Regions from separate parts of the Homo sapiens genome. Here regions 1, 2, 4, 5 and 6 are each linked to region 3. Evidence: promoter capture Hi-C in 16 types of primary human blood cells and fetal thymus (Javierre and others, 2016). All regions are on one chromosome and are shown on one strand. The core of a region is centred on a gene start or on the middle of the fragment in contact, and the rest is flanking DNA. Distances in the headings are between cores, read along the strand shown. Region 1 has its middle 2.7 kb from the start of USP13. Region 2 has its middle 3.3 kb from the start of MFN1. Region 3 holds the start of DNAJC19 (DnaJ heat shock protein family (Hsp40) member C19). Region 4 overlaps ACTL6A (actin like 6A). Region 5 overlaps NDUFB5 (NADH:ubiquinone oxidoreductase subunit B5). Region 6 overlaps ACTL6A (actin like 6A).

Evidence for each region. Contacts are between HindIII fragments. The CHiCAGO score rates a contact against its expected background, and 5 or more counts as called.
Region 1: a fragment that was not itself captured here is called in contact with the fragment with the promoter of DNAJC19 in region 3 in 2 of 17 cell types (fetal thymus and activated CD4 T cells); the score reaches 8.3 in fetal thymus.
Region 2: a contact is called between a fragment that was not itself captured here and the fragment with the promoter of DNAJC19 in region 3, in 3 of 17 cell types (naive CD8 T cells, total B cells and activated CD4 T cells). The highest score is 9.2, in naive CD8 T cells.
Region 4: a fragment that was not itself captured here is called in contact with the fragment with the promoter of DNAJC19 in region 3 in 2 of 17 cell types (total CD8 T cells and naive CD4 T cells); the score reaches 5.9 in total CD8 T cells.
Region 5: a fragment that was not itself captured here is called in contact with the fragment with the promoter of DNAJC19 in region 3 in 1 of 17 cell types (naive CD8 T cells); the score reaches 5.3 in naive CD8 T cells.
Region 6: a contact is called between a fragment that was not itself captured here and the fragment with the promoter of DNAJC19 in region 3, in 1 of 17 cell types (monocytes). The highest score is 5.7, in monocytes.

Annotation. Positions count from the first base shown.
Region 1 is chr3:179,648,563-179,652,022 of GRCh38, reverse strand. It overlaps the pseudogene H3P13. Among named protein-coding and RNA genes, the nearest start is that of USP13, 2.7 kb to the left of the region's middle. The HindIII fragment of the contact is 5,252 bases long and covers 1-3,460 here.
Region 2 is chr3:179,342,684-179,346,063 of GRCh38, reverse strand. No RefSeq gene overlaps it. Among named protein-coding and RNA genes, the nearest start is that of MFN1, 3.3 kb to the left of the region's middle. The HindIII fragment of the contact is 2,685 bases long and covers 155-2,839 here.
Region 3 is chr3:180,988,130-180,991,305 of GRCh38, reverse strand. DNAJC19 (DnaJ heat shock protein family (Hsp40) member C19) reads left to right here and starts at 1,570. Exons shown (of 6, transcript NM_145261.4): 1 at 1,570-1,706; 2 at 3,077-3,128. The coding sequence starts at 1,704. The HindIII fragment of the contact is 8,604 bases long and covers 1-3,176 here.
Region 4 is chr3:179,587,053-179,590,350 of GRCh38, reverse strand. It overlaps ACTL6A (actin like 6A), which reads right to left. Exons shown (of 14, transcript NM_004301.5): 14 at 1,944-2,421. The coding sequence ends at 2,341. It overlaps MRPL47 (mitochondrial ribosomal protein L47), which reads left to right. Exons shown (of 7, transcript NM_020409.3): 7 at 1,356-2,066. The coding sequence ends at 1,479. Among named protein-coding and RNA genes, the nearest start is that of MRPL47, 16 kb to the left of the region's middle. The HindIII fragment of the contact is 938 bases long and covers 1,266-2,203 here.
Region 5 is chr3:179,606,730-179,610,168 of GRCh38, reverse strand. The region is part of intron 1 of NDUFB5 (NADH:ubiquinone oxidoreductase subunit B5); the gene reads right to left. Among named protein-coding and RNA genes, the nearest start is that of NDUFB5, 3.7 kb to the right of the region's middle. The HindIII fragment of the contact is 1,733 bases long and covers 1,174-2,906 here.
Region 6 is chr3:179,569,406-179,572,368 of GRCh38, reverse strand. It overlaps ACTL6A (actin like 6A), which reads right to left. Exons shown (of 14, transcript NM_004301.5): 2 at 2,469-2,545; 3 at 2,128-2,302. LOC124909462 (a long non-coding RNA gene) reads left to right here. Exons shown (of 2, transcript XR_007096181.1): 2 at 599-846. Among named protein-coding and RNA genes, the nearest start is that of ACTL6A, 8.0 kb to the right of the region's middle. The HindIII fragment of the contact is 1,020 bases long and covers 923-1,942 here.

The sequences.
Region 1 (3,460 bases), core at 821-3,320, 1.3 Mb after region 3:
AGATCAGATAGTCCTTAAGTTCTTTTTTTTTTCTTACTTTTTTTCTCTTTTAACTCTCCCTGGTTCTCCAGACCTATCTCAAGATTTCCATACCCTCAAGCAAGCCTCGAGCGCACCACACTTTCTTATAACTCAGCACTCCCAAATGCTATCTGTTGGAAAAGGAGGAGGTGGCACTGAGCAAAAAATCAGACACTACTGTCATCTTCCTCATTGGGCAGATCCTCTCAGCGAGCTTTTGCTTTGAATTTAGTCTCATCAGCTTATTACCTTTCACGTTAATGGATGATGTTTTCTCCAATTACAGAGATAAACTTGGTTTTACAAAACTTAAAATTTAATCTTAGATTAAATACAAATTAAATCAGTGAGACACTGTTTTTCATCCTTTGGGCTGGTAAAGATATATTGAGTTAGCATGGGTTTGGGAAGTAGACCCTCATTACATTGTTGGTGGGGATAAAAACGATAAACCTCTTTGGAAGGAAATGTAATAATACCAGTCATAACTTTATATGTGCATACTGTTTTCCCCAGCATTTCCTTGTCTAGACATTTATGCAACAGATAAATTAAGGCTGTGTAAAGATATTTGTTAGAGCACTGTTTCGAGTAACAAACGTCTGGGGAAAACCTAAAGATCCTTCTGTAGAAAGTGGTTAAAATACAGTACCATTGAAAAGAATGAAGTTGCTCTACGTGTGCTGATGTGGAACAATCTCCAAATTATTACTAGATGATAAAAGCAATTTAAGCAAACTAGTGTATAAAAGCAAGGAATACATGCAAGGCTGATAATATGCAGTAGGCATTTTGGCACATCCTATATACCATGGGCCTTCATTCCAGTTGGTTGTACTTGTAGTAAATATTTTTAATGTAGCCCCTTAAAATATACATATGTGTATGCATGCCCACTTGTTTGGCTTTAGGATGTCTCTAGAGCAATACACAAGAAACTAGTCAGGCTCTGTGGAGAAGAACTGAAAGCCTGAGGTTAAGGGAGAACTTACTACCTGGTATGGTAGGGCTGTGTCCCCACCCAAATCTCATCTTGAATTCCCACGTGTTGTGGGAGAGACCCAGTAGGTGGTAATTGAATCATGGGGGCAGGTCTTTCTCGTGCTGTTCTTGTGATAGTGAATAAGTCTCACAAGAGCTGATGGTTTTACAAACGTGAGTCTCCCTGCACAAGCTCTCTCCAGTTGTCTGCCTCCATCTGAGACGTGCCTTTCACCTTCCACCATGATTGTGAAGCCTCCCCAGCCACATGGAACTGTAAGTCCAATAAAACTTTCTTTTGTAAATTGCCCGGTCTCAGGTATGTCTTTGTCAGCAGCGTGAAAACAGATTACTACACTACCACTTTGTAGCTTTCTGTATGATTCCATTTGTATTATGTGCAAGTATTGCTTTTTCCCCCCCTTTCTTTTTGGAGATGGAGTCTCCCTCTGTCGCCCAGGCTGGACTGCAATGGCGCGCTCTCAGCTCACTGCAACCTCCGCCTCCTGGGTTGAAGCGATTCTCCCGCCTCAGCCTTCCAAGTAGCTGGGACCACAGATGCACGCCACCACGCCAGGCTAATTTTTTGTTGTTTTTTTTTTTTTTTTTTTGTAGAGACGGGGTTTCGTCACGTTGGCCAGTCTGGTCTCCCACCTCGGCCTCCCAAAGTGCTGGGATTACAGGCGTGAGCCACCGCGCCCGGCCTCAAGTATTGCTTTAAAAGTTAATTAAAACTCAGCCATCGCTCTCCAACACCAGCGCCGCCTGTCACTCGCCACGCTCCAGCAGAAGAACGGGTCTAAGTAAGGAGGTCACTATACCATGGCTGGTACAAAGCTGACTGCCCAAAAATCAATTGGTGGTAAAGAACCCAGGAAGCAATCCCAGCACTTTGGGAGGCCGAGGCGGGTGGATCACGAGGTCAGGAGTTCAAGACCAGCCTGGCCAAGATGGTGAAACCCTGTCCCTAGTTAAAATACAAAAAAAAAAAAAAAAAAAAAATAGCTGAGCGCGGTGGCAGGCGCCTGGAGTCCCAGCTACTCGGGAGGCCGAGGCAGGAGACTCGCTTGAACCTGGGGGGCGGAGGTTGCAGTGAGCGAAGATCGCGCCACTGCACTCCAGCCTGGGCGACAGAGTGAGACTCCGTCTCAAACAAAAAAAAAAAAAAAACAAAAAGCAAAAAAAAACAAACAAAAAAAACTCCAGGAAGCAACTAGCTACAAACGCCGCAAGAGTGCGCCCTCTACTGGACGGGTGAAGAAACCTCATCATTACAGACCTGGTACTGTGGCACTCGTGAAATTAGACGTTATCAGAAGTCCACTGAACTTCTGATTCGCAAACTTCCCTTCCAGTGTCTGGTGCGAGAAATTGCTCAGGACTTTAAAACAGATATGCACTTCCAGAGTGCAGCTGTTGGTGCTTTGCAGGAGGCAAGTGAGGCCTACCTGGTTGGTCTTTTTGAAGACACCAACCTGTGTGCTATCCATGCCGAACATGTAACAATTATGCCAAAAGACATCCAGCTAACACACCACATACCTGAAGAATGTGCTTAAGAATCCACTATGCTGGGCACGGTGGCTCACGCCTGTAATCCCAGCACTTTGGGAGGCCGAAGCGGGCGGATCACCTGAGGTCGGGAGTTCGAGACCAGCCTGACCAATATGGAGAAACCCCATCTCTACTAAAAATACAAAACCAGCCAGGTGTGGTGGCGCATGCCTGTAGTCCCAGCTACTCAGGAGGTTGAGGCAGGAGAATCGCTTGAACCTGGGAGGCAGAGGTTGCAGTGAGCCGAGATCGCGCCATTGCACTCTAGCCTGGGGCAAGAAAAGCGAAACCCTGTCTCAGAAAAAAAAAAAAAAAAAAAAAGAAGCCACTATGATGGGAAACACTTCATTCTAACACACACACACACACACACACACACACACACAATTTCTTTTACCTGTTGTTGGTAGTTCTGAACGTTATCTATTTTTTTTTTCCCATGGGGTCAAAACGTACTAAGTATATATGATTGCGAGTGGAAAAATAGGGGACAGAAATCAGGTATTGGCAGTTTTTCCATTTTCATTTGTGTGTGAATTTTTAATATAAATGTGGGGACGTAAAGCATTAATGCGAGTCAAAATGTTTCAGTGAACAAGTTTCAGCAGTTTAACTTTATAATAATTATAATAAACGTGTTAAATTTTTCTGGACAATGCCAGCATTTGGATTTTTTTAAAAACAAGTAAATTTCTTATTGACGGCAACTAAATGGTGTTTGTATCATTTTTATCATACAGTATATTCCATCACTATACTTTCTGTGTTGTCCTACATGCAAGTACATTTTTTTTGGTTTTTGTTTGTTTTGTTTTGTTTTGTTTTGTTTTTGTTTTTAAGACAGTCTCACTCTGTTGCCCAGGCTGGAGGGCAGTGGTGTGATCTCGGCTCACTGCAACCTCCA
Region 2 (3,380 bases), core at 248-2,747, 1.6 Mb after region 3:
CATAGATATTAACAAAAACTAACGTTATTTGAAAGAAATTATCAATTTGATGTATCACTGCCAAATCTGTTCAAGAACATAAAAAATGAAAGGACACAAATTAAGGGGAGAATAACTATAGATATATATATAAATGCCAACAAATTGAAAAGCTTAGATGAAGTATAAAATCTGGGAAAACATCAAATACCAAAATTAGACCGAGAAAAAATAGAAAACTCGAATAGGCTAAGTTTCCCACATATTCAAAACTAGCCAGGTCTAGATGATTTTCGGGGTAACTTTCTATTACATGTTTAACGAAAAGATTAATCTTGCCGGGTGCGATGGCTCACGCCTGTAATCCCAGCAGTTTGGATCATGAGGCGTGTGGATCATGAGGTCAGGAGTTCGAGACCAGCCTGTCCAATATGGTGAAACCTTGTCTCTAATAAAAAACACAAAAATTAGCCAGGCGTGGTGGCAGGTGCCTGTAGTCTCAGCTACTCCAGAGGGAGAGGCAGGAGAATCACTTGAATCCGGGAGGCGGAGGTTTCAGTGAGCCAACATCACGCTACTGCACTCCAGCCTGGGCGAAAGAGCAAGACTCAGTCTCCAGAAAAAAAAAAAAAAAAAATTCACACTTATGGACTACAGAGGCAAACATAGGAAATATTAGCTACCTGAGGCCAACGTTGTATTAGAATTATTTTTTTATCCAAGTAGGGTTTTCCTAGGAATACAGAAATCATCAAACAGAAATCAATATAATCCATAATACTGACAGACCAAAGGAGGAAACCCACATTTATCTCAATACATGCAGAAGAAGTACTTGCTAAAGTTTAATATTTATAATAAGTCCTAACATTTATTTTTTATTTGCTATAAGCAAAGCTCTAATATTTATTATTTTTTAAATTATCAACCATTTCTCTTTATTTCCCTTGTTCTCTGCCTATACTTACCCAACTCTTAATATTTAAAGCATGTTGTTACTATTAAAGTATGTGATACTCTTGGAGGAACAAACGATGGAATGTAATTGTGTAAGACACAGATTTACATGCTAATTATGTCCATGGGGAGTTGGTATATGATAAAATTGGTATTATGAATCACTGGGTAAGATAAATTATTTTATCACATTGGAGAAATTGGTTCAATTTAATTAACAAAAATAAAGTTTGAATCATATCTATATACAAATTCAGATGGGTATAAGACCTGAACATGAAAAGTAAAACCAGGCCGGGCGCGGTGGCTCAAGCCTGTAATCCCAGTACTTTGGGAGGCCGAGGCGGGCGGATCACGAGGTGAGGAGATCGAGACCATCCTGGCTAATCCGGTGAAACCTCGTCTCTACTAAAAATACAAAAAAATTAGTCGGTTGTGGTGGCGGGCGCCTGTAGTCCCAGCTACTCGGGAGGCTGAGGCAGGAGAATGGCGTGAATGCCGGAGGCGGAGCTTGCAGTGAGCCGAGATCTCACCACTGCACTCCAACCGGGGCGACAGAGCAAGACTCCGTCTCAAAAAAAAAAAAAAAAGAAAAGTAAAACCAGAAAATTAGGAAAAAACGTAGGAAAATAATTTGGGGACATTTTAGTTGGAGAGAATTTTGTAAAATTAACAGACAGGAGGTACAATGTAAAGGGAAAATGTGATGAATCTATTACATTAAATTTAAGGATTTCTGTTCAAAAAAGTCATCCATAACAGACACATAGGAAATCTATTTTTTGCAGTATATATTGCCAACAAAAATCAATAGTTAAAAATAAAGAACTTCGGAAAATAGAGCAGAAAACCCAACAGAAAAGCAGACAAAGGATAGGGAGAAGCAGTTCACAAAATGAAAGTTAAAATGACTAATAAGCATATTAGATAGTCTCAACCTTGTTAGTAATCAGATTATGCAAATTTAAACAATAATAATGTACTACTTTATGACCTTAAGATTTACAGGAAATTTAAAAGTTGTATGATATTGTTGATAAGCCTGTGCGGAAACATGATCTTGCTGATGGGAGTATAAACTTTAGTCATTCTGCATATATTTTGGAAGTACTGAATCACAAGTATATAAAAAACTGACAAGAACGTGTATGGTAGGTAGCATTATACAAAAGGCAAATACTTGGATACATGAAAGTCAATTTGATATTTAATTGAATTGTAGTTCAGAAAGGTGACAGTTTCCTGCATTATATGGTAAATCTCTTTGAGGTCAAGAACCATAGTTTATCTTTGTATTCCTGAGCACTTGGCTTGATAGTAGATATTCCATAGCTGTTAGTTAAATAGAAGCATAGTAAAATAGTCTTTTTGTTTTGTTTTGTTTTTTTGAGGAGTCTCGCTCAGTTGCCCAGGCTGGAGTGCAATGGCACGATCTAGGCTCACTGAAACCTCCACCTCCCGGATTCAAGTGATTCTCCTGCCTCAGCCTCCCAAGTAGCTGGGATTACAGGCATCCGCCACCATGCTTGGCTAATTTTTCTATTTGTGTAGAGACAGGGTTTCACCATGCTGGCCAGGCTGGTCTCGAACTCCTGACCTCAGGTGATCCACCTGCCTCTCAGCCTCCCAAAGTGTTGGAATTACAGGCGTGAGCCACCACGCCCAGCCTGTAAAAATGGAAGTTTTTAAGGTTAAAAAAAAAAAAAGTTTTTAAGGAAGGGGGTGTCCAATCTTTTGGCTTCCCTGGGCCACACTGGACGAAGCATTGTCTTTGGTCACACATAAAATACACTAACAATAGCTGATGAGCTCGAAAACAAAACAAAACAAAAAATTGCAAATAAATCTCATAACATTTTAAGAAAGTTTACAAATTTGTGTTGGGCCGTGGGTTGGACAAGCTTGTTTTAAGGAGTTGCAGAACCCATGGACTAAGAAAAACTTAGTAACATTACATCTACTGTTCATGGTCATAGTCACACAATTTATTACTACTGAACAGGGATTACAAATCAGAGTCATATGCTTTTGTCCTTTATTTTTTAATATGTTATTTTCTCTAAGTGTTGGTATGACATTCCATAAAAAACACAGAGCACATTTTAACTTTAAAGAAAATTATTTGAAGAGTGGTTGGGAGTTTGTCATGTTTATTCTACCTTAAAAAGCATTTGACTAATGATGTTAGAAGATCATTTTTCTGAAGTATAAACAAGCAGTTTTGTCTAGAATTCTGTATTCTCCAATTTCAGTCATTCATGTATCACCTACCCAATTTTTTCCATATCCATGTATGACTATTATTATTTACTTCATATTTTTCACCAATTTGCTTTTCTTAAAAAGTTAATTTTTTCCTAAGTAAAAATATTCGTGAATCCAAGTGTTATGCCAATTAAATTTTATACCACGTAATTTACAATGATGAAAGTAAAAACTACATA
Region 3 (3,176 bases), core at 321-2,820:
AGACTTAAGATTCATGAGTGAGGTATCATGAGAATGAGGAAGGCTTCTACACTCCAATTTGCACTCTGGCTTCCCTCATAATAATAGCCCCACACTGAGTGATGACCATAAGCAGAACACAATATGTGCATAATCTCTACGTTCACAAAAACTCGGCAAGGTAGTTATCATTACCTTCATTTTACAAATGAGGAAGAAACTCAATCAGAAATAACTTTTCCAAGTCACAGTATTAGTAAGTGACAGAGCCAGGTTACCTCCAGTTTGATCTGCCACCAAAAAAAGAGCTATCTCCAGCTCAACAAAATGTCTTGCTGTGTTGCTACTCCCAATTTCCTGAGTCTGGGTTTTGTAAAGTCTCAAAGCTAATTAGAGTCTACTGTAAATCTATTCCTCCAGAAACTGCATTACACAGTTTGTACATACCAAAAATATGCATAATAAATTTTTCCAGATAGCATTCTAGCTTGTTGATGCCAATTTGGTCCCAAGGTCTTATGCCTCACTTGATTATTTATTTTGTAATTGTTGGGTAAAAACCAGATAAAAGAGAGGCAAAAGAGGAAGTTATAAACTTAATGCTAGTGTCTTAGTGCTGGATGTCACCTTAAATCATGTGTTGACAATAAATTACATCACAAAAACCTTAGCGCTAGAAGAGCTCTTGGATTATCAAATGCAAACTGCTTTTACAGATGAGGAAAACAAACCCAAAAATTTTGCATATTTGTTTAATAACTAACAAACTCATCAAAGCAGAATTGCATTGCAATGTAAACGGATATTTAACACTGTAAATTCTGAGTGGGAAGTAACTCCAAACTTATTTTGATCATGCAAACGTTGCATTGTAAAATTCCATTATTGTCTCCATTATTTTTTTCTTCTCAAGCATTTATGTAGGGATGTATGAAACTGATGTCCACGTAAGGGCAAAATCCAGCCCTACTTTTTATTTTGGGTGAGGAGGAAAACTTTTAAATAGCCCTTTTCAGTTGTAGGATCTTGACATTCCATGTTCAGAATATGAACTGTCTTTAATCCCATTCTACAAAACGAAAACCCAAATATTCACAAAGTCTTGTCAAGTCACATCCTTAAATGAAGTTCTTTTACATTAAAAAATGCTACCGAGCAATCCCTGAAACACAGTGTGGTTGGTTTCATTTGTTTTTCTGGGCATCTCGTTTCCTACACTGGGTTACAACATATTTGTTTGGGTTCGTGGTGGAAATGTCACAGCATGTTTAACTACATTCATTACCCTTGACAATTATTAACATAAAATAAAGGCAAAACGAGGTGCTAAGATGTAGGGGGAAAAAATCGGTCTGAGTAAGGCTGCCCATGCCCTTCCCTGCAAGAATTTCCAAATACCCACCGCCCAGGAGCAAAGGACAGAAAACACAGAGAAGCCCCACCCCTACACCCAGAAATAAAGAGATCCGCCCACCCTTCAACCAACCCGAAGTCGCTTTCTCCGCTCTGTCCACTGCTTGAGCGACTTTCCTTCTCCTCCGCGTCCCCTTTTACGACAGTTTTCCGGCCTAGTTTGCGGCTGCTCCTGCCGTGTTGCGTAGGGCGCCTGTGCTTGAGGTTGGGGGTTGCGTCGCTCTCTGGTAAAGGCGTGCAGGTGTTGGCCGCGGCCTCTGAGCTGGGATGAGCCGTGCTCCCGGTGGAAGCAAGGGAGCCCAGCCGGAGCCATGGTGAGTGCGGCCTTCCGGTCTTCTTGGCGACCTCCGGCCCAGGCCTCAACCTCAGCTCCCCGCCTCGGAGGTGTGGAGTTGAAGTTGTGCTCCTTAGTGCGACTGCGGGCGGGAGGTTTCGGTTATTGGGGAGTCACACTCACCAGGACACAACCCTGTTGGCTCGCTCTCTTGGGGGTTTGTGTTTTTACATCGTCTTTCTGCACGGTTCTCCAGCTTCTTGTCCGCACGGGCTCTGCAGGTGTTGCTTGCCTGGAACTCCTGTAAGGTCAGAGGCTGTCATGGACTCGGAGATTAGTGGAAACGTATTTGATTATAAGTGCCCTTGCCCTAACACATCTTCACAGCACTAGCTCCACTTTGCTATGTCCTTCTCTTTGGCTTTTGCTGACAGATGTCTTCTCCATGCTTCCTGAACATATTTGGGCCTGTCTTGTTAGGAAACAACAGGGCAGTGCCAAAGGTATTAGTCTCCTAGTTTAGCCCACGTTTAGCCTCGAAAATGCGTTGTTAGAATTTTACAGGAGCCGTCTGTAAACAGTTTTTCCTTCTGTAGCAGAAACCTTATTTCCACATTTTTTTTTTTTTTTTTGAGACAGAGTCTTGCTCGGTCGCCTAGGCTGGAGTGCAGTGGCACAATCTTGGCTCACTACAAGCTCCGCCTCCCGGGTTCGCCATTCTCCTGCCTCAGCCTCCCAAGTAGCTGGGATTACAGGCGCCCACCACCACGCCCAGCTAATTTTTTTTTTTTTTGTATTTTTAGTAGAGACGGGGTTTCACCATGGTAGCCAGGATGGTCTCGATCTCCCGACCTAGTGATACGCCCGCCTCGCCTCCCAAAATGCTGGAATTACAGGCGTGAGCCACCGCGCCTGGCCTATTTCCACTACTTTTGATTGAACTTTAATGTGACTTAATTTGTCTGGTGATGAAAGAAGTTTTCAAAGGGAGGGAATCATCTTTTTCACTATTGTAAAGATAAATAAGCAAGTCGAACTTGCCCTCTTTCCCATATGATGAATCCTGTAACTTTAATGCATTCAGCATAACAGATGCAGTAGTTTTAAAGATTACTGGACAGAATATTTCCGCCTTAAAAGTTGTTTCTCTGCCAGGCATGGTGGCTTATGCCTATAATCTTAGCACTTTGGGAGGCCAAGGTGGGAGGATTGCTTGAGGCCAGGAGTTCAAGACCAGCCTAAGCAACATAGCAAGACTCCGTCTCTTAAAAAAAAAAAAAAAAAAAGAAAAAAAAAAGTTGTTTCTCCTATTAAAATGCAGTTTGTAATGAGTTGGGGATGGAAGAATGGGCAAAATGAGAAAGGGTGGGAATTAGAGAAGTAAATATTTACTCTTCTCCCCCTTACCAGGCCAGTACAGTGGTAGCAGTTGGACTGACCATTGCTGCTGCAGGATTTGCAGGTTTGTTTATGGTTTGGGGATGGAAGTGAAGTCGGGGAGATTGGAGAT
Region 4 (3,298 bases), core at 485-2,984, 1.4 Mb after region 3:
CTTTTTTTTTTTTGAGATGGAGTCTTGCTCTGTTGCCAGGCTAGAGTGCAGTGGTGCGATCTCGGCTCACTGCAACCTCCACCTCCCGGGTTCTAGCGATTCTCCTGCCTCAGCCTCCTGAGTAGCTGGGACTACAGGCATGTGCCACCACGCCTGGCTAATTTTTGTATTCTTAGCAGAGACAGGGTTTCACCATGTTGGCCAGGATGGTCTTGATCTCTTGACCTCGTGATCCTCTCACCTCGGCCTCCCTAAGTTGGGATTACAGGCGTGAGCCACTGCACCTGTCCATGACATAACTTTTAAAATAATGTATGAGAATGTATCAATCCAGTATCACTTTTACAGGTTTTATACATATTCTAATGATTTTGTTTTTGAAACTACCTTTTTAAGCCTCACCTTCAGAATGTAGCATCATCATCTTAATATTAAGAATAGCAAACCTTTATTCTTTCAGATGGGTCTTTGTTTTTGTAAATGGTCAAAATTTAGTTGGAGCAAAGACTGATGAATAGAATGGGTAATCTCATTTTGACTTTGTTCAGCCTTTATACTTTTTTTCCTATATATGTGCATATTTTTTACTTCATCCAGCTGTAATACGTGTTATCTCAATTTTCTATGACCTCTCCCATAGCACTGGCATATTGTATTGTCTTTTTTCCCCCCAAAACCTCATTTGTAATAACTTCAGCAGTACATCTTTATTGCTGTATTTTATATAAACTTATTTCTATTGACCAATATCCTGTAAGATATCAATTCAAATAGAGCTTGGTATGCAAGGATTTTTTTCATTTTCAATTTTTACAACTCCCAAGTTGACCCTACAGGTCAAGTAATTTATGTTGTAATTTATGCAGCAAATGTGTCATACCCTGGGATACTGATGTGTGGGAACAAACTCATTTAAAGAATAGTAAGTCTAGCCAGAGCCTAAGAATTTATTTTTGGCATCATGAGAGATATCCTGAGACTTATGGGAATTCCCTACTTTCAAATAGTACTCACTCTAGCTTATCATTTCCCCTATACACAGAATAACACTCTGCTAAGAGATGATGCTTAGTCATATGAGGATTGAACTTAAGGCCCAATTTGTTACAGGTTCATAATATCTGGACATTCTTTCTAGTCAGGAAATAGGGATAGTTGGTATAGGGTTTCAGATGCTCTTGACTTGTGTAGGTTTACAGTGATTACTATTCAAGTTTAATAATATATATAACACACCAAATACAGGGACTGGCATGTTTGAAGCTTTGATGTAATTGATTTATGCATATTTTGATAGTATTGAATAACAAGGAAATATTTTTGTATAAATTGCTGTTACGCTTTTTTTATTCTAGACTGGAACGTGAGAAACGAGCCCGCATCAAAGCACGGAAGGAAAATTTAGAGAGAAAGAAAGCAAAAATTCTTTTAAAAAAGTTTCCACATCTTGCTGAAGCCCAAAAGTCAAGTCTTGTCTAAGATGTCTGAACTATTAAATTTACCATTTTGTTTTTCTTGAATAGTCTGTGTACAGGAGTAAATATGTTAAGTGGTTTATAAAGAAATTCTGTTTTTAGTCAAGTGACTTTACTAATCAGTTGTTCTAAGTGTGAATATGGCATGCTAATTAGCTAATTTGGTAGAAGCTAATTTGCTTCTAAAAATCAGGTATAAAGTTCAGATGAGATTCCCACTTTATAAATTCTGACATTTAAGCAGGCTTTAAATGTCACCTGCTACCTTAGAGTGTGAAGGTGATGGTAACTGCCACAGCAAAGGCAATACCGTAGTTTTTGAATTTGAATAATAGTTTTACCTCTGTTGTTAATAGGCTATGAAGAGGATGTGGGTATTGCTGTTAATAAACGGAGGACTTTGATTCAAAATAATGAGAAATACATTTAGTCCTTAAAGTAGTAATCACAGTGCACAACAGTCCAAAATATATTTCTGGAATGGCTAATTTTTATTTAATTCTGTAAGCCTAAGGTAAAAAGCATAGGCAGTAACTTTTACTAGTCAATAAAAAGCAGTTCTACCAATCCACTGGTAATTAATACACTAAACAGAGTTGGAAAGCATTTTACTGAAAGCAAAATATTTAGAGAAAATAGACATTTATACAAAATTATAAAATGCTTGTAATAAGAATAAGTGCATTTCAAGGAAAGCACAAACTTAATTTATAGAGCCAGTTAAAGCTTTAAAAAATTTAAGTGGAAATTGAAATATGCAAAAATGTATAAACATTCTACAAAAGATGGTCATTCTTTTCCTGAGTATACTAAAGCTATGAAACGTAAGGTGACAAAAGGAAGGTAGAAGCTTGGGAACTCTTTCTCAAGGGCATTTTCTTTCTACACACTGCTTCCCTCCTTCTTCATATTCTTGCTTGGAAATCCACATCTGTTGAAAGGTACCCTGTAAAATGGAAAGAAATTTATATAATTATGCCTTACTTCTTACTAGAAATGGCTTAAAAAATTTTTTTTTTTTGAGAGAAGGTCTTGCTCTGTCAGCCAGGCTGGAGTGCAATGGCGTGATTGTAGCTTACAACCTCGAACTTCTTGGTTCAAGGGATGCTCCCACCTCAGCCTGGGACTCCAGGGGCATGCCACCTTGCCTAATTTTAATTGTTGTAGAGATGGGGTCTCACACTATGTTGCCCAGGCTGGTCTCATACTCCTGGGCACCTGTGATCCTCCTGCCTCAGCCTCCCAAAGTGCTGGAATTATAGGTGTGAGCCACTGCACCAGCGTTTTTTTTAATATCTTATTTTCGTAACTCCTAAACTTTGAATAATTCATTTAAGAGTCCCGTCCCCCAAAATAGTACTCGATTATTTCTGCCCTCCTCCAGAACCATCCAAACACACTATTTAGCCTTGCCTTTATGGTTAAAAAGAATACTAAGTCCTTCTGTATCTGTTACATTGTCAGGATTTAGAAAATATCTGGCAAGGAAGACTGAGGGTTTAGGTGTGATGGCTTGATGCCAACCTAAGGCAATAACAGAAACTGTCAGAAGGCTTGAATGAGTACTTAATGACATTTACTTTTGTTGCTCTGAGGTAAAGGGCATCCTCCCCCTTTATATACAGTATACATATATATGTATATAAACTGTATATATACAGTATATATGTATATACATAAGTAACTATATATACAGTATAGATATAAGTATATAAACTGTATATAAGGGGAGAAATGCTCTAAGTCCAGGATGCAGAAAAGTACAAGGACTTTTTGTCCTTATTCAAGGCAGATGGTAGTCCAAGCAACATCTTACACCCCGC
Region 5 (3,439 bases), core at 791-3,290, 1.4 Mb after region 3:
GTGAGCTATGATTGCGCCACTGCACTTCAGCCTGGGTGACAGAGCAAGATCCTGTCAAAAATAAATAAACAAATAAATAAAATAGGCAAATAGCCTGGCAGAGTGGCATGTACCTGTAGTCCCAGCTACTTGAGAGGCTGAAGCAGGATTGCTTGAGTCCAGGCGTTCAAGTTCAGCATGGGCAACATTAGGGAGACCTCATACTCAAGTTAAAAAATAATAATATAATAAATAATAAGCAAAGGATTTGAACAGACATTTCTCTAAAGAAGATATATACACAAATGGTCAAGAAGCACACAAAAAGATGCTCAACAAAACTAATTAGAGAAATGCAAATCAAAACTACAATGATATCATCACATACCCATCAGAATAGCTACAATCAAAAAACCAGAAAATAACAAGTGTCAGTGACAATATGGAGGAAGTGGAATCTTTGTACACTGTTGGTAAACAAAGGAATGTAAAATGGTATTGTTGCTATGGAAAATAGCATGAGGGTTCCTCAAAAAATTAAAAACAGAATTACCATATTGTGGAATCCTAGTAAGATACATAAGCAACAAGGAAGGGGCCCCAGGTGGAGGAAAGCAATTCTGCTGAGACACGGCTAATCACAGGCAACCCACAGGCACAACATCCTGTTCCCAAATACCTCGTTCAACACATAGCCCCAGTAGAGTGACCTTATCTGCACATCTTCTCTGCTCATAGCCCCTTCAGTATGACCCTATAAAACTTCCCTCCAGTCCCTGACTCTGCAGATAGCCCCTTCTCTGCTGTGCTGCCCATTGTTCTCTTGCAACTCTATCTTCGTATTTTCTCTAATAAATCTGTCCTCTGTATCTATGACTGTCTTGGTAAATTCTTTCACCACCCACAATGCCAGTCCCAGCCAGTAACACCCATGACACACATGACCCAGCAATTACACTTCTGCAGATATACCCATAAGAATTGAAAGCAGGGTCTCAGAAGAGGTATTTGTATATCCATGTTCACAGAAACATTATTCACAACACAAGTCATACTCAATGTCACTGATGAGTTCTTGGAAACTGTGACTTTAAGTGAAACCACATACAGCAGGTCCTTAAACAACATCACTTCCTTCTTTATTATAGGTTCTGACGGTCGCAGTTTCAAGAGCCAATGATGTTAAGTGAAGCTTTACAGTAATTAAAATCTGCAAGTGCTTCGGTGTAGTGGCTCACAGCTGTAATCCCAACACTTTAAGAGGCCAAGACAGGTGGATCACTTGAGGACAGGAGTTCGAAAGAATTCTTAACAGAACCCATTTAGGATTAAACAAGTTTTTGTGGGTCTGAAGAAACTCCCCAGGCCTCCACAAACAAGTTGACTGGAGGTCTGAAGGAACTTCCCAAACCTCCGTGATTTAGCAGGAGATAAGATAAGGGTAATCACCCCAGCACCTGGATCCATTTAAATTAAGTAAATTTACTAAGGCTCCAGAGGAAGGTCCTCAGGACTCAGACCTTAATTATAGATTTTAAAAAGTTAGTCACTTTTGTCTTTAGATAAGTGCACACTTACATGTAGACATATAGCTTAAAAGGTCTACAAGCTCTGGAAAACTGTAATTTTAAGTTGGTCTGGCGATAATTTCCAGGACTTCTCCCTGTAACCAGTTACAGGAATAAAAACTCTCTTCTGGCAGGGCGCGGTGGCTCATGTCTATAATCCCAGCACTTTGGGAGGCCAAGGCGGGCGGATCACCTGAGGCCGGGAGTTCAAGACCAGCCTGGCCAACATGGTGAAAACCCATCTCTACTAAAAATACAAAAAATTAGCCGGGCATGGAGGTGTGCACCTGTAATCCCAGCTACTCAGGAGGCTGAGGCAGGAGAATCGCCTGAACCCAGGAGGCAGAGATGGCTGTGTGAGCCAAGATCGCGCCACTGCACTCCAGCCTGGGCAACAGAGTGAGACTCTGTTTCAAAAAAAAACAAAACAAAACAAAAAAAAAACTCTCTTCCTCCCCAGTTCATCTGCATCTCATTATTGGATGGCAAGAAATAGCAGCCTGACCTTCAGTTTGATATGAGAACACGGGAAGCCAGGGGTTGCAGTGAGTCAAGATGGTGCCACTGCACTCTAGCCTGGAAGACAGAGCAAGACTCTGTCTCAAAAACAAAACAAACAAACAAACAAACAAAACCTAGATGCAACCCAATTGACAGATGATGGATAAGCAAAATGGGGTAAATACATACAATGGACAACGGACAATTCAGCTTTAAAAAGGAAGGAAATTCTGACATATGCTACGACATAAATATGCCTTGGGGATATTATGCTAAGTGACAGACAAATATTATATGATTCTACTTACATGAGAAATAGAGTAGTCAAAATCATAAAGACAGCAGAATGGTGGTTACCAGGGGCTACGTGGAAGGGGAATGGAGAGTTATTGTTTAACGGATACAGAGTTTTAGTTTTACCATATGAAAAAAGTTCTGGAGTTGGATGATGGTGATGGTTGCATAGCATTAGGAATGTATTTAATACCACTGAACGGTGCACTTAAAAATGGTTAAAATAGTAAATGTTATGTGTACTTTACCACAATTTTTTTAAAGGCTACTGCTGCCAGGCACTGTTGATTTTTTCCACTCACTCTTCACAACTACCTTTTGAGGCAGGTTAAAATTCTCATCTTTTTTAAAGAGGAGGAAATGCAGGTTATGAGCAATTAGGTGTCTTCCACTTTAGCTTCCAAGATGTGATGATCACAGACATGGCTTCTGAATTCTAGAGCCAGAATTTGAAGATAGGCAGTCTATCTCCAGAAAAAACAAAACAAGACAGGCTCTCTACTACATTAGAGCTTACATTCTTGTAGGGACAGATATAAACAACCATGTAAGAGATTAAAAGCTTTCATATCACAGTGACAGATGCAAAATACCTTTGAAAGCAGGTACACAGCTGAAAACACAGTAACCTTTAGTAAACATAGCTATTAGAACCTTCCCTGCTCTGATTGGAAAGGGCGCAGAACACGGTAATGATCCTTTGAGAACCCCAAGAAAGGGCAATAATGTGGAAAGAGAAACTGGGGGTGAAATTTTGCTGCAGTTTATCTCCAGCTGGATTTGATTGAATACTACCAGAGCGAGTATTTGAAGGATTTGTATTTGGCTATATGAGAATATCTGTAATCAGAAATGGCTTATAAAGGGATTTTCATCAAGGAATGTAGTTTTGTAACAAGTTCAAATTCCTGCTGGAAATTTGTTAAATACCACTGGTTCTTTGCATCATGTTTCCAGCAAATCCCTATGTATATTGCCTCATCCTGTGGAGTGGCATAATTCAAATTAAACTGGGAGAATAGGGGTAAAAAGAGAACAAGATATTTTGAGGCTGGAGACAACTTTCTGACTTTAAGTGTTTCACTTCCTCTTTACCT
Region 6 (2,963 bases), core at 183-2,682, 1.4 Mb after region 3:
CCCACCTGGATTTTTTTAACTTCTTTCTTAGTGTAAAGCTTTCAATGTCACAGCAGAAAACACCGAGAATAACTGGAATTTTATGCTTCCAGAAACTTTTTCTTTTCTTGTTCTTCCCCTGCTTTTTTTCCTACATCCCTAATTGTTCCCTTTCTTTCTCCTTCAAGGGTACCTTTTATTCTCTATTGGTTAAAATATACAACAAGTTTTTGCTAGAACTCCATCTTCAATCCTCTTCTCATGTTCCAATTTTTTTCAGAGTAATAAAATGCAACTCCATGTCTTAAAATCTTTCTTATAACCTTTTATTCCCGTTTACTGAATTATCACCTGGATGTTCTAAGTACTTTGAACTCAGTGAACCCATTTACTTACTACACATGAAAGAGTTAACACTGCAAGCCTGAGAAAGGCCTGCTTGTAAGGCTGACTCTTAGCTGGTGTCTGGAAACATGACTGGCAAACAGTTCCCTATGTTCATATAAAACTTGTCCCTAAATGGTAAGGGTAGCTCGCTATACCTACACTGTTTATACAATGTGGTTTGTTCTGAACACTTGCTTTCCTTCTGAGAATCTAAAATTTTGTTACATGCCAGGTAGATGGTACCTACATAACCAGCCCTCTGTAAAATCCTTGGGTACTGAGCCTCAGAGTTCTCCTGGAAGGTAACACAGATCATAACTTGTTGCTGGAGGGATTAAGCACATCCTGTGTGACTCCACTGTGAGAAGACTCTCCAAAGCCTGTATCTGGACTTCATCATCCCCTGTCCCTTTTCCCTTTGTCGATTTTGTTTTGTATCTGAATCTTCAGTACAATAAATCTTAGCTGTGAATACAACCATATGCTGAGTCCTGTGAGTGAGTCTTGCTGGTGAATAATTGAACCTGAGAGTGATTTTGGCTATCCCTGATAAGCTTGTTTTTTTTTTTTGTTTTTTTTTTTGAGACAGAGTCTCACTCTGTCACCCAGGTTGGTGTGTAGTCATGAGATCTCAGCTGCAACCTCTGCATCCTGGGTTCAAGTGATTCTCATGCCTCAGCCTCCCAAGTAGCTGGAATTACAGGTGGTACGCATCACCACACCTGTCAAATTTTTGTATTTTTAGTAGAGATGGGGTTTCGCCATGTTGCCCAGGCTGGTCTCAAACTCCTAGACTCAAGCAATCCACCCACAGTCTCAGCCTCCCAAAGTGCTGGGATTATATAGGCGCGAGCCACCACGCATGGCCAACCATGCCTTTTAAAACCGTAACACTTGCTCCTTCCCTTTATATTCCTATCTCAATGCATGGTACTCTCTGTTCAGAGTTACCCCAACCAAAAATCTAGGAAACTTTCTCAACTTCTCTCTTGCTTTCACTCCCTCGATCATTTAGTACCATTTGTCTCCTGGTTACCCTGAAAGTCCCTTCAGAATCTCTACCAGCATTATATAATAGTTTAAACCTTTTTCATTTCTCATCTGGACTCTGACCATCACATCTGTTTAAATTCCTTTGGGGTTATCCTTCAGTCACTAGCTTAATACAACCCTGGGATGGTTTACAAGCCCTTTTATGACTGCTCCCTGCCTACCTTTCCTGCTACTGCTCTCTGCCTACCTTTCCTGCTACTGACCCTAATAAGCCCAATGCTGCAACCATACTTAATTGTATTACATTTTCAAGCACATAAGTTTCTTTCACAATTCCATCCCTTCACACATGCTGGTCCCTTTGCTTTACCCAGCTTTGTCAGCCAAGCTAATTCTTACTCATTGATCAAGATTCATCATGTTACCTCCTTTGTGAAAACCATCACTGACTCCCAACACTAGAGTCAAATACCTCTCCTCTCTAATCCCATTGCTCATTGCACATACCTATATTGTACCACTTATCCCACAGTGTACCATTATTTGTATATATACATCTATTTCCCCCAACTAACTGTAAGCTTTTAATGAAAAGGAACATTTCTTATGCATCTTTGTATTCTCAGTGTCTGGAAATCAGTTTGTGGAATAAAAAACAAAACAAAACAAAAAACCATGGTTGATGTTCAACTTATAGGAAGCTACTACTTTGTATCTAAAATATAACATGTACACTCCATAATCAATTCCATGGGGAAAACATCATACCCATCCCATTTTTTAGAGGTGAAATGGCCTCCATATTCTCCCTCGGAACACGCAGAGCATTAGTATCTATGTAGTAGGTGGGACCGCCTTGTTTGCCTTTATCGCCATCTATTTCCATTAATGTGCTTCCGTCATCTCTTTCTACCACCATACCAATAGCTGTAGGAAAATCCACCTGTAAGAGTCAGAAACATGACATACAAGTTTCACCTTTCATCAAGAAGGCATTTTTTCCCCAATTAATGTATTTTATTATATTTTGTTTTGAATCAGAATTTCTGCATAAATTTAATTTACATGAATGGCTTTACATATCCAATTAACTCTAACATTACACTTACCTTGGGGCAGTCCTCACCAGCATAACCAGCTCTCACAGTATAGGATCCAATGTCAAAAACAAGGGCTCCAACTTCATCTGAAAAGATTAAAGATAATTAGCATTAACAGCTTGCAAAAGTATCATATGAAAATCACAGCTCACTGCAGCCTCAACCTCCTAGGCTCAAGCAATCCTCCCGCCTCAGTCTTCCAAATAGCTGGGACTACAATGAATTTCTTAAATTTTTTGTAGACATAAGGTCTCACTATGTTGCCCAGGCTGGACTCAAACTCCAGGGCTCAAGCAATCCTCTGCCTCAGCATCCCAAAGTGCTGCAGGCATGAGCCACTGCACTCAGCCCAATTATATTCATATTATTACTCACTTGAACCTAGTTTCAAATACACCTTAAAGAATCATTTAATTAAAATATAACAAGGCATACACCGTATTTAAGTAGAGGTTCAATCAGTTAAGAAATGGTACACTAAAACTGGGTAATTTCAGTTTACTT